2 separate regions of the Homo sapiens genome follow, and region 1 is linked to region 2. The links are contacts of gene promoters, found by promoter capture Hi-C in blood cells and fetal thymus (Javierre and others, 2016). All regions are on one chromosome and are shown on one strand. The core of a region is centred on a gene start or on the middle of the fragment in contact, and the rest is flanking DNA. Distances in the headings are between cores, read along the strand shown. Region 1 has its middle 17 kb from the start of MNX1-AS1. Region 2 holds the start of EN2 (engrailed homeobox 2).

Region 1 (7,052 bases), core at 1,923-4,422, 1.6 Mb before region 2:
AAACCAACATTGCATTAATAAAGGGCAGATAGCACTTTTGGAGGCTGAGGTGGGTGGATCATGAGGTCAGGAGATAGAGACTATCCTGGCTAACATGGTGAAACACCGTCTCTACTAAAAATACAAAAATTAGCCGAGCATGGTGGTGGGCACCTATAGTCCCAGCTACTCAGGAGGCTGAGGCAGGGGAATCGCTTGAACCCAGGAGGCGGAGGTTGCAGTGAGCCAAGATCGTGCCACTGCACTCCAACCTGGGTGACAGAGCAAGACTTTTTCTCAAAAAATAAAAAATAAACGGCAGATAGGTGCTCAATTGTGGATCGCTCGATGCAGTCTTTTAAAACCTCTTTAGGGCCGGGCATGGTGGCTCACGCCTGTAATCCCAGCACTTCGGGAGGCTGAGGCGGGTGGATCATGAGGTCAGGAGATTGAGACCATCCTGGCTAACACAGTGAAACCCCGTCTCTACTAAAAATACAAAAAATTAGCTGGGCACGGTGGCTGGCACCTGTAGTCCCAGCTACTCGGGAGGTTGAGGCAGGAGAATGGTGTGAACCTGGGAGGTGGAGCTTGCAGTGAGCTGAGATTGTGCCACTGCACTCCAGCCTGGGCAACAGAGCGAGACTCCATCTCAGAAAAAAAAAAAAAAAAAAAAACCTCTTTAGGTGGCAAGACAGATATTATTAACTCTGTGTATCATTAAAAGGCTCATGTTTGAATCAAATGGTTCTTATTAATTTATTAAATGAAATTCGCCATCATTACAGTCCCTTTCAAAAGAATAATTGTATTATCAATATATTTCCCATCAAATATTCCTAGGAGCTTACAACTACCTATAGCTCTATATTCATGGTCTGAATGAGGTCCTATGTGTTAAACATTTTATCTTCTGCATCTGATGCCCTTTATCATCTAAAAATGTTTTATAATAGTTTGGGGAAGGCAAACTCTCTTTTTTTTCTTTCTTTTTTTTTTTTTTTTTGAGACAGAGTCTCACTCTGTCGCCCAGGCTGGAGTGCAGTGGCGCAATCTCGGCTCACTGCAAGCACCGCCTCCCGGGTTCACGCCATTCTCCTGCCTCAGCCTCCTGAGTAGCTGGGACTACAGGCGCCCGCCACCACGCCCGGCTAATTTTTTGTATTTTTAGTAGAGACGGGGTTTCACCATGTTAGCCAGGATGGTCTCGATCTCCTGACCTTGTGATCCGCCTGCCTCGGCCTCCCAAAGTGCTGGGATTACAGGTGTGAGCCACCGTGCCCAGCCAACTCTCTCTCTTAAGCTATAGGCCATCAATTAAAAGGAGCGCTGTTTTGATGTATGTAAGTTGTGCCATGATTCCTCTGCATATTTTCTGTCTGTGGAGGAGCCCAGCAAGCATTTCCCCTTAGGTGATCTAAGTATGAAAGATTCACTAACAAACAATAAGTGTAGAGTGGTGATCACTCAGAATGATGGAAAGGTGACAGTGATGCTGATGACGAGAGTATGTTAATAAAAGGTTTCCTAAATTGCTCCTTAACTAAATCAATAAATCCCAACCTAGGGTGTCCAGGTCTCTAGGCACCTAGGAAGGTAGCCATGGGGAAGGGGAGGGCAGTGTCTTCCAGGTAATTCCCATATGTTATTTATAAAAGCTTAATTGAAATCCTGCGCTCTCTCTTCAAGAGGTGGCCTTAGCTAGTCTTCGGAATCTCTGGTTGGAAATGGAGTTAGCTTGCCTCAGTGCAGGATGTGTGTTCTCCCTCTCATGTGGACAAGATGCTCAATATAGATTTAATTAATTGTTTTAAAGCAATGCATTATTTTAAATACAGCTTGGTATGCAAGTATAAGGTTATTAGGGGAAAAAAAGGGGGTCTTTCATGGTGCAAAGTTTAAGCAGCAACCAAATGAATTCTAGAAAGATCATATACAGACAAATTAAGAAACAATTATGGCCAGGTGTGGTGGTTCATGCCTGTAATCCCAGCACTTTAGGAGGTAGAGGCGAGAGGATCATTTGAGCTCAGGAGTTTGAGACAAGCCTGGACAACATAGCAAGATCTCATCTCTATTTAAAAAAAAAACGATTTATAATGAACATCAAAACACATAGGTTACAAATTCTCATTACTAAGTATCTGGCTAAGAAACCAGAGGGGAAAAAACCCACGAATTTGAAAAGACCAAATAAAATGAACTAGTAATGAGTTAATTTTAATAGTTTATATTAAATATTAATAGCTTAGCAAATCACCACTCACCATTTAGAAAACGCTGGCCTACACCCTGTAGACTATTCTAGAACAAGAATGTTATTCTATGCTATTGAAAAAGAATAGGTCCTAGTTATTTGAGAACCAATATAATGTTCACCCCCAACCTCCAAGGACACTTCACTGTCTTTTCCCTTCCCTGTCCTCTTAAAAATAAAGGGCAGCATTGATATACTGACTTTACCTATGTACATCAAAAGCCCTGAAAACCATGCAACGTCCACAAACACATCAAAAATGAGGCAAGCATTTCTGTGATTAAGGGAGAAATGTCACTCTAGGAATGTCTTGTGCTGTTTCACCGATGAAGGGGACAGGGTCGTGGAAGGTGGGGACTCAGCCCAGGCGCAGGGGAAGTCCTCCCACTGTGGCCTTCCCGTAGGCTGAGCCTGCCGGCCTCGTCTGCAGCAACCAGAAGACCAGTGAGAACACGGTCCATAAAGAGCTACTGGCTTGTTCAACGACTCACGAGGTTTTTATGGAATGCTTACATTTTGAATTTTAGAAGCTAAAGACAAAAACCCAAAAAGCAGTCAGCCAGCGATTTTTGCAGGACATCTGTTTTCTTTGGCTCTCGTGAGAACACCCAACTGTAGGATTTTGAAGCTTGGTGGCTTTAGGTGAAATGCAAGGTCGTGCCAGGTTGATTTAGTGCATTATTAGCTGTTTATACAGTACTGAAGCAGCACATGACGTATGAAAAATGACTTTCCGATCTCAGGGAATAAATCAGGACTAGCAAGTGATTCCACTTAATACTTAACTTTAGCGAGTAAAATATTACACCTGTTATTATTCAGGGCAAACACAGCCCCTTCCATTTGTTTATTGAGGAAACAATTTATTTGAGGACATTTAATTGCAATAGTGAAACCTGACTTGGGGGGTTAATCCCAGTTTATCGATGCAATTAAAAGCAGTGTGTGCTGTGTCTCGTATTTATTATCTAGGGGTAGAATGTTGACACAACCCCGGTGTCGAGATGGGTGTGCTTGAGAGTATCTGCGCTGTGCGAGGTGTAAGGTGGATGTTGCGTCATGTGTACAGCAAACACAACTCTATTCTGTGTCAGCGTTTGCATAACCTAATTGGGGAAAGGCTTCTAATTTGATTTTACTTGGAGCAATATAGGTTCAAATTGTTATATAGATCCAGCATTGTTTGGTTTCTTGTCAATGATTCATGGTATTTTAATGCCCAGCAGGCAAATACTAAAGCTTCTCATCACACATTTGGCAGTATTCCACAATTCCCTTGGCCTGAATTCCGCCCCCTTTTTTCTTTCCCCACCACTAGATCCCCATCCTCCCATATCTCAGATGTTGCTGCCTCTGGTCTAAGTCAGTTCCTGGTGTCTGCTCCCTCACAGCTTGTTGAGGCCTGTGTCCCTTGCACACACCCAGGTCGGACGTTCTGACTGGGGAGTGTGAAGGCTGTGTCACTTCCCCTCTGTCCCTTCCTGGGATCCATCATGAAAGGCAGCCAGAGAAGGCAATTTCAAAGATTTTAAAAACTTCTCTATTGGCCAGGCGCGGTAGCCCCGCCTGTAATCCCAGCACTTTGGGAGGCCAGATCACGAGGTCAGGAGTTCGAGACCAGCCTGGCCAACATAGTGAAAGCCTGTCTCTACCAAAAATACAAAAATTAGTCAGGTGTAGTGGCACGTGCCTATAGTCCCAGCTACTTGGGAGGCTGAGGCGAGAGAATCACTTGAACCCGGGAGGCGGAGGTTGCAGTGAGCCAAGACCACGCCATTGTACTCTAGCCTGGGGGTGACAGAGTGAGACTCCATCTCAAAAAAAAAAAAAAAAAAAAAAACCTCCCTTTTAGGGACCACTTCCCAACTCATTTTACAAGTCTACTATTTTGCTGACATCAAAGCCAGATAACGACACAGCCAGAAGAGAAAATGACAGACCAATATCCCTGATAAACATGGATGGAAAAATCCGCAACAAAACACCAGCAAACTGAATTCAACAGCACTTTAAAAGGATCATTCCCTGTGATCAAGTGGGATTTATCTCTGGATGCAACGATGGTTCAATATTACAAATCAATAAGTACAATATACCACATTAACAGAATGAAGGACAAAAACCATATGATCATCTCATTCGATGAATAAAAAGTGTTTAACAAAACTCAACATCCTCTCATGATAAAAAAAAATTCAACAAATTATGTATAAGGTAGAAGGAACGTGCGTGCCTCAATATAGTAAGGACCATATATGAAAAGCTCACCGCTAGCATCATACTCAATGGTGAAAAGCTGAAAGCTTTTCCTCTAAGATCAGGAACAAGACAAGGATACCCACTGTCACTGCTTCTATTCAACATTGTCCTGGAAGTCCTAGCCTAGCCAGGGCAATTAGGCAAAAGAAAGAAATAAAGAGCATCAAATAGGAAAGGAGGCAGTAAAATTGTCTCTGTTTGCAGATGACATGATCTTATGCACAGAAAACCCTGAAGACTCCACAAAAAACTGTTAGAACTGATCAACAAATTCAGTAAAGTTGACGGATACAAAATCAACAAACATAAATCAGTAGCCTTTCTATACACTACGAACTGTCTGAAAAGGAAATTAAGAAAATGATCCCATTTACAATAGCATCAAAAAGAATAAAATACTTCCATGTAAATTTAACCAAGGAGGCGAAAGATCTGTGTAATAAAACCTATAAGACACTGAAGAAAGAAATCAAAGAAGGCTACAAATAAGTGGAAAGGCATCCCCTGTTCGTGAATCAGAAGACTTAATATTGTTAAAATGTCGGTACTACCCAAAGCAATCTACAAATTCGATGCAATCCCTGTCAAAATCCCAATGACATTTTTTGTATAAGTAGAAAAAACAATCCCAAAATTCATATGGAACCACAAAAGACCCCAAATAGCCAAAACAGTCTTGAGAAAGAAGAACAGAGCAGGAGGCATTCCATTTCCTGATTTCAAACTCCATTGTAAACCTATGTGATAAAAATGAGCATGGTTCTGGCATAAAAACAGACACATAGACCAATGGAACAAAATCTAGGGCCTAGAAGTAAACCCACACATATACGGTTAACTGATATTTTTTCTACTTTATTTCCTATAGAGATGGGGTCTCACTAAAGCGCCTAGTCTGATCTTGAACCCCTAGGCTCAAGTGATCCTCCCATCTCAGTCCACCAAGTAGCTGGGATTACAGCACGTAACACCATGCCTGGCTCAGGTTAACTAATATTTGACAAGGATGCCAAGAATAGACAATGGGGAAAGTATTATCTCTTCAATAAACGGTGTTGGAGAATAGATACACACAAGCATAAGAATAAACCTTGACCCTTATCTTACACCACTCACAAACATTAACTCGAAATGGATCAAAGGCTTAAATGTAAGACCTGAAATGGCAAAACTCCTAGAAGAAAACACGGGAGAAATCTCATTGATATTGATCTTGGCAATGATTTTTGGATTTGACACCAAAAGCACAGGAAACAAAAGCAAAAATGAAGTAGGGCAATTTCATCACATCAGAAAGCTTTTGCACAGCAAAGAAAGCAGTCAACAAAATGGAAAGACAACCTATGGAATGGGAGGAAGCATTTGCAAACCACATATCTGATAAAAGGTTGATATCCAAAATATATCAGTAGCTCATACATCTCAATAGGAAAAAAAAAGTAATAATCTGACGTTAACACGGATAAAGGGCCTGAATACATATTTTTCCAAAGGAGACATACAAATGACCAACATGTACACAAAAAGGTGCTCAATGCCACTAACCATCAGAGAAATGCACATCAAAATCACAAGCAGCACTTTACACCTGTTAGCATGGCTGTTATCAAGAAGACAATAGGTAAGTGCTGGTGAGGGTGGAGAGAAAGAGGAATCCCCTACGCAGCTGGTGGGAATAGGAATTAGTGCAGCCATTACGGGAAACAGCTTGGAGTGTCCTCAAAAAATTCAGAATGAGAACTACCATATGACCCAGCCATCCCGCTTCTGGGTTTGTGCCCAAAAGAAACAAAGTCAATATCTCAAAGAGACATCTGCACTCCCATCGTTATTACAGCATTATTTGCAATAGCCACATCATGCAATAATCTGTCTACCAACAAATGCATGGAAAGAAAATGTGATACACACACACACACACACACACACAGGAATATTATTCAGCCATAAAAAAGGATGACATCCTGCCATTTGTGATGGCATGGATGAACCTTGAGGGCCTTATGCTAAGTGAAGTAAGTCAGACAGAAAAAGACAAAACACTGCATGATCATGAACAAATACTTGTTTTTGTTTGTTTTTTGAGACACGGTCTTGCTCTGTAACCCAGACTGGAGTGCAGTGGTGTGATCATAGCTCACTTCACCCTCAGACTCCCGGGCTGAGGTGATCCTCCCACCTCAGCCTCCCAAGTAGTTGGAATTACAGGCATGTACCACCATGCCTGGCTAATTTTTTATTTTTAATAGAGACAAGGTCTCACTATATTGCCCAGACTGGTCTCCCTTAAATGTGGAATCTAAAAAAGTCAAATTCATAGAAGCAAAGAGTAGAATGATAGGCCAGGGGCGGTGGCTCACGCCTGTAATCCCAGAACTTTGGGAGGCCAAGGCGGGTGGATTATCTGAGGTCAGGTGTTCAAGACCAGACTGGCCAACATGGCAAAACCCTGTCACTACTAAAAATACAAAAATTAGCTAGGCATGGTGGTTCATGCCTGTGATCCCACCTACTTGGGAGGCTGAGGCAGGAGAGTCGCTTGAACCTGGGAGGTGGA
Region 2 (6,614 bases), core at 2,596-5,095:
AAGACTGGGAAAGGCTGCAGGGCGGTCACAGAAGCAGGAGGCGCCCTGAGGGCTATGATGGGGACCCTCATGGGGATACCCCACAGGGTGCCAAGGGCTGTGGGAATCAGGGGCAGGTGGGCCCTGAGGACAGGAGGGGCCCAGAGTGTCTGCCTCCACCCAAGCTCCTCTATGACTCCCAGCCAAGGGCTCTGTGGACCCAAGTTCATTCCTTTAAGGAAGAGTCAGTGCATGTACTTCCCTCCTTGGTGGGGAGGGGCACTGAGCTACTCACAGTGGGTGAGTCCTTCACCCACTGGAAATCTCCCAGGTTTCCTGTCCAGGAGAGGGGACCTGGCTCTACAAGGGTGTTGACTGCACCACCCTTTCCCCAGACATGGGACTGCTTCACTGTGGGCAGCAGGGTAGCCCAGCTGACCTTGTCCAGGTCCACTTCTGACCCTCCCCACTGTGCCTCCCAACTGGGATTCAGACTTATGAACCTGACCTGGCCTTCTCCCTGTGGACCTGCCCCAGGTTTTGGACAGGGTCGCTGTAAGGCTTCTAGGACCTGCTATCCATGGGGAAAGGGCAGAGGGAGGAGAGCAGAAGGAGGGAAGTGTCATCAGTTTCTTTTTGGTGATAAGAGGCTCAACCCCCTGGCGTTCCCTGTGGGGGAAGAAGGGGGCAAGGCCACTGGCAGGGAGTGGTGACCTCGCCTCTGGGTTTCAATTTGTGCGGTGTATGAATCGGCTTTAGGGAGCATCTGGCCCCAGCTTCATCACAGGTCCCTGTGGCTGGAGAAGGCTGGGGGCCCCCCACCCTTCAGGGCCGGAGAGCTGCCGGGCACACTGAGGAGAAGAGGAATGTGGATCTCCTTGGAGGCCCTGGGACTGCACCCTGCCCAGGTCAGGAGAGTCAACTAGGGTGCTGGGGCTGTGCCCAGCAAGAGGTGGGGGACGAACTGGAGGCCCAGGGTGAATGCCAAGCACTCCCTCATGGCCAAGTGAGTCTTGTGCTCTCTCCAGGAGACAGGCCTGGAGAAAGAGGATCTGTGGGCACCACCTCAGGAGCACCAAGGGCAGCTTTTAAAGCAACCCATAGGCAGGCTCACCACCCATGAGAGCACACACCCTATACTTGGGCACCCACCCCATGCACACGTACACACTCAGTGCCTGTCTTGCTCACGCCCAGGGCTCCAGGCCAGTGGGCCTGGCTTTGGTAGGGGTAGGTGCAGATTTGGAGATGGGGTTGGCCCTCCGGAACGGTGGTGGGGGATGGGGCACAAGGCTCCAGGAGAGGCCCCAGCCTCCTGCTCCCAGAGCCCATCTCTGTCTGGGTTTCCAACCACTCCCTTCCCCAGAACTCTACCCCCAAACTCTTCTGGTCCTGGGGCTCTTGTTAATGCACTCATGAAGCAGCCCGCAAAAGGACACCATTTTATGGCAATAAATTTCCCTAAAATAATAATTTTTAGGTTTTTTTCTTGATTTTCTTTCAAAAGACAAATACTTAGGAGTCTCAGAAACAGAATCAAACCTCCCCAAGAAAACTCTCTCTCCCCTTTCTTTCGGAGAAACCAAAGAACAGAAACATTATCTTGCAGGGATATTTTAAAGCCCATGAAGATAGGCGACTTGGGCTGGGCTGAGCTGGGCCGGGCCAGGCCGGGCCGGGCGGTGCTGCCCAGCTCCCGGGCCGTTGGGGGCTGGCTCAGCGAACTCCCGCGCCGCACAAAGCCCGGCCGAGTCTCCTCGCCCGGCATTGTGAGCCTGTATGTTAATTAAATATTAACAAAGGAGGAAGACGAGAACAATGGAGCAAATTTCAGATCTAGCTGAGAAATCTGAATTTCATCAGAAATATGCACGCATAGTTCTGCGGGATGGCGGCCCAAGGGTTGGCTCACTCCTGCTGTGATCTGGGCAAATGACCCCCGCAAAATAGTTGAGGGTTTGGGGGCAGCGGGGATCCGCTGCCAGCTCGGGGTCAAACAGTCCACTTCTAATGGCGGTTCCCAGCCGCAGACCCGCATGGAATGCAGTTGATGATTTCTACAAGGACATGGACTTAGTTTTTTAAAATCGCAGATCTATGAAAAAATATATCCAGCATCTCTGCAGGGCCCCTGCGAATGCTGCCTCTTTCCCATCAGCAGCCCCCAGGAAACCCTGAGAGAAGGTCCTTTCTATTTGGGGATGGCAGGTGCCGGGAGGGACGGCTGCCTCCCTTGTCCTCGCTGTGTGCAGGAAGGGGGCTGAGCCCCACCACTGCGGGCTGGCGCTGGCAAACAAAGTGGAGCCAAGGGGAAAGGGCGCCTTTATTTTCCTCCTTCCCTGTGTGCATCCTCCTGAGTCCCACCGGTCAGCGCAGGCCCGAGGGGCAGAAGGCAGAGCGGCAAAGGGCCTCGCCTTTTCTTCCCCGAGCACAGCCGGGATAACCGGATGGTAGGACAAGTCTGGGGTGGGCTGGGGCATGCGTCCCCGGCCTGGCCTGAGTTGGAAGATCGTAGGGAAGGGGATGAGAGTGTGCACTTCCGGGCCCATCTTCCAGCCACCACGTTCCCACCAAAAAAAACTACAGTGGGGGAGACATGGGCTAGGGGCTGGGAAGAGATGCGCCAAGGCGGGGTGGAAGACAGAGAGGGGAGACAGGGAGAGAGGAAGGAGAGAGAGAGACAGAGAAAGAAAGAAGGTCCCTTCTGCGGTCCTAAGAAGTCTGTACCCCCTAGCGAATCAGTCCTGCCGCTGGACTCCTGGCCGCTGCCCGGGCCGGCGTCAGCTTCACACAATGTCGCGTGAGTCTTTGTGCGTGTGCGCGGGGGAGGTTCGAGATGTTTTCCTCCCGGTAAGTTCCCGCGCCAGCACCGCCCCCCAGCTCCGCGGGCCTCCCCGCGGCGAGCCGGGACGCGTGGTCCCCGCGGGCTCACCTGAAGAAGGCCGGTCCGAGTAGCGCGTACAGTAGACCCACGCCGGCCAGAGCATGGGCTGCGCGCCCAGGTTGGCGCCGGCTTGCGAGCTGTCCGAGTCCGAGCTCACCGACAGGTCGCCGCCGCCCAAGCCGCGGGCCTTGAGCGACCCGTCCAGGGGGCCGCCGGGGTCGCCGCCTTTCTTGGCGCCACCGTGCAGCGAGAGCGTCTTGGAGCCGCCTTCCCCGTCACCCGGAGAGTCGCTGCCGGCGGCTGGGAGCGGCCCGCCCGCGCCGGGCGCACATGGCGGGTTCTGCCGGGGCTCTCGGGAGCCCGAGCCCAAGAGCTGCTCCGAGCCGCCCGCGCCGCCGCCTCCCTCCGCACCGCTCGCGCCGCCTTCGCCGCCGGCTCCGCCGCCCCTTCCTCCTCCCGCGCCCGCACAGCAGGTCCCCGCGTCCTTTCGCCGGCCGAACTCGGGCCGCAGGATGTTGTCGATGAAGAAGTTGGTGATGCGGTGCGGGTGCTGGTGGTTGCCGGGCGCCTGCAGGACCGCGGGCAGCATCAGAGCCCGCCGGCGCCCGGTGTCCGCTTCGCCCGGGCTGCTACCGCCGCCGCCGCCCGAGCCGCCGCCGGGGCTGGATTCCGGCTGCCGCTGTCCCTCCACCGCCGCCGCTGCTTCGCCAGGCTTGGGGTCATTCTCCTCCATGCTGTTCACAGTAAATCCCACACTGGTTCTCCGGGGACGCCCTTCCAAATCAGCCTTCGGCCCTCCCGCGGCGCACACGGAGACCCCCGCGCCCCCACCCCGCCGAGTCTTCCGAGGGCGTGCGCGGCGGCCGCGGCCAGGGCTGAGGTCCTACAAGTCGCCGGCCGCGCTCGGCGCGGAGCCACCTTTGAATCCACGAACTGGGTTAGAAACACCACGAGCCGCCCCGCTCGCCCAGACGATGAGAGATTCAACAGAGCCAAGTCCTCGACTTCGCCGCGCAGCCGGGGTCTAGACAGTCGCAGTGGTCCGGCGGGGACGCGGGCCGCCTCCCGGGCTCCCCGCTCCTCTCCGCGTCCGGCCGCCTCGGGCTCCGGCGCCGCCGCCTGGGCCGCCCGGGGCGAGAGCTGCGCGCATGCAGGCAGCGCGTTCCCCGGCGCTCACGCCCGCCCGGGCCGGCTCCGGCCGCCGCCGCCGCCCGGCCGTCCCCGCCCGCACGCCCTAGCCGGCCCTCGAGGGTGCCGGGCGCCCGCGGTCAGCGCGCCCGCCACCGCCCGCACGCACATGGAGGCCCCCTCCTCGCGGCCGCCGCCCCGCTGCGGGCCGGGGCGCCCCACCGGCGTGCGGCCGCGCCCCCGCCGAGCCCCGCAGAGCTCCGCGGCCCGAGTCGCATGGGTGAGAGACGCGAGGCCAGGGCCCGGCCGGGCCGGGCTGGGCCGCCCGCGCTCCCCGGCCGTCCGCCGCCCTCGCCGCCTCGGCCTCCGCGCGGGCTCGGAAATTTCCAGGCCACTCGGCGCAACCTGAGACACTTTCACTCTGGATTTTTGTTCTTATTTTTAACAGAGCCCCCTCGAGTGACGTCGCAGGCCGGTCTCCTGGACACGTGCCTCGGGCCAATGGCCGCGGCGCCGCGCGCCCACGTGACGCTCCGGCCGCCGCTGGGTGACAGGAGCAGCCCGCCGCCCCTCCTCCCCTTAAAGCGGCCGCGTCCCCCGCTCCGGGTGCGGGAGCCCAGGAACCCGGAGAGACCCCCGACCGCGTCTCCTGCGCTCGCCCGCGCTTTCCCTGTCGCTTCGCGGTTCAGGGGTGTGAGTCACCCGGCGACAGCCCCGCCAGGTCACCCCGGGGCGCGTAGGTGGACACGCACAGGAAGATCGCTATTTTTAAGATTTCCATATTGTTTACCGTGGGGCGAAATCCCACAATTCCTTGCACAAAATGCATAAATAATATTAAATGAGCTGCCGAGATACAAAGGGACTTTTGTGGTCCGCTTTCCTTGCTGATGGAGAGGAATAGTGTCACTCCCATTTGACTCGGTAACCCGGCAGCTTCCTGTCTTAAACGCAGAGCTGGCGCGCAGGACACTCCTCCTGCAGACACTTATTGTAAGTGTGCGTGTGTGTGCGTGTGCAGGGAGGCGCGTGCATACGGCCGCATTCCACCCGGGGACAGCGACCCTCATGAAACATGCTTAGCGATCCGAAAGAGCGGGGGAATGCAGTATGCGGCTCCATTTGCGAAGGGAGAAATCCAGGAGCCTCGGAGGTTCTAAAGGAATCCTTTTTGCCAAGGAGAGGAGGGGTGACTGTTCAGCTAAGACTTCAAAACCAAGTCGCCCGCCCCCCTCTAACTTCTCTACTCTGATTGAGGAGCTCCCAGACCGGTCATCTCGTTTTCTTTGTTTTAAAATCCTTTAAACTAATTTTGCCGGAGAGCAGGGCCCATTTGAAACGAGAATTAGGAATCCAACGGCAAGGGTGGGAGCCCCAGTTGGTTTCTCCCCTCCTCTCTCTTCATCTTTTCTAGACTTTCCTTCCAGCTGTTGTCAGAATGTCCAACTGGAAGTTCTGTTTCCTCTTCTCTTCCCCCTCCTCCCTCGGGCTCCTTCCCATTTGCTCTTGTCTACCCACCAAACACCCGTTGTTACCCCAGGCTCGCCTGTCCATCATTTAAAATGCATTTTTATGGAAATGTGTGAATTCCTGGAAACATCCGATAGGGCAGCTCTGGGGGTGCGGGAGCATTTGCACGCCATGAGTACCCTCAGTGCGGGGGAGGCGGGGAGGCCGCAGCCTGGCACGGACACCCTAGGGCTGATTGGCCCTGGGCAGCTGCACCGTGCTCAGCAACCCAGACCCCCGCAGAGGCAGCCAGCAGGTTGCTGCCAGGCCCTGAGTGAACTTGGGGAGTCTGGCAAGCATCTCCGAGGCAGCGTGGCCTGCCAGGCCACCTGGGGCCTGAAGGTTGCACCCTGGCCTTGCGAAGCTCCTTCCCCAGTGTCCATCCCACGTGCTGTCCTTCCCCTGCAGGCTTCAGAGTGCTGGCTGGGCTGGGATGAGAAACGACAGTTCCCACAGCTGCTCCCAGGAAAATTACCCCCCCACCCAGGACGGGAATGGTGGGGGAGGAGGTGCTGGGCTGGCCTCCTGGCCACTGGACGTGGCTCTGGTCAGAGTGTGCCCTCTGTCCGGTGTGTCTAGGGCAGGGTGGGGAAGCCTCTTCTCGCTGGGGCTGGATTCCTCCACTTTTTCTTCATTGGAGGAGTCCTTACCAAATGTTCTGGCTAGGCACACATCTGCCAGGGGTCCTCCCCGAGTCTCAAAAAATCAAACCCCACAGTCTACCTGCCCCCCGGGAAAATAGGGCTGGTGAGAGTTTGTGGGAAGTCTTATTGACGCTTACTTGGTTTTTTGGGGGGAGAATTTTCTGCAACTCTGGAAACTCTGATGATCACCAGTCAGGAAAGGGAGGGTCCAACGACTCTGGGTCTCCTGAACATGATATTGGGGGGAGGAGGGGCCCTGAGCTCTTTGGTTCCTGCAAAACCATCCCAGGTTAATGGCTCCACCTGTCCCATGAAAGCCAATTAGGCGGCTTCCTGAGAAGTATTTTCTGAATTCTTGGGACTCTTTGCCTCTGACTGCCTCAGTATAAATGGCCCCAAGACGCTGGGCTTCAGCCCTGTGCTTTCCTGCGACCCAGACCCCAATTCGTGGCTGCAACAGAGACTCTGGG

The links. The method cuts DNA at HindIII sites, captures the fragments that hold promoters and counts their contacts. A CHiCAGO score of 5 or more calls a contact.
Region 1: a contact is called between a fragment that was not itself captured here and the fragment with the promoter of EN2 in region 2, in 2 of 17 cell types (total B cells and naive B cells). The highest score is 8.4, in total B cells.

Annotation. Positions count from the first base shown.
Region 1 is chr7:157,024,289-157,031,340 of GRCh38, reverse strand. No RefSeq gene overlaps it. Among named protein-coding and RNA genes, the nearest start is that of MNX1-AS1, 17 kb to the right of the region's middle. The HindIII fragment of the contact is 611 bases long and covers 2,867-3,477 here.
Region 2 is chr7:155,455,360-155,461,973 of GRCh38, reverse strand. EN2 (engrailed homeobox 2) reads right to left here and starts at 3,845. Exons shown (of 2, transcript NM_001427.4): 1 at 2,912-3,845. The coding sequence starts at 3,596. It overlaps EN2-DT (EN2 divergent transcript), which reads left to right and starts at 4,856. Exons shown (of 3, transcript NR_186580.1): 1 at 4,856-4,984. RefSeq lists an enhancer at 4,192-5,183. The HindIII fragment of the contact is 14,368 bases long and covers 1-6,614 here.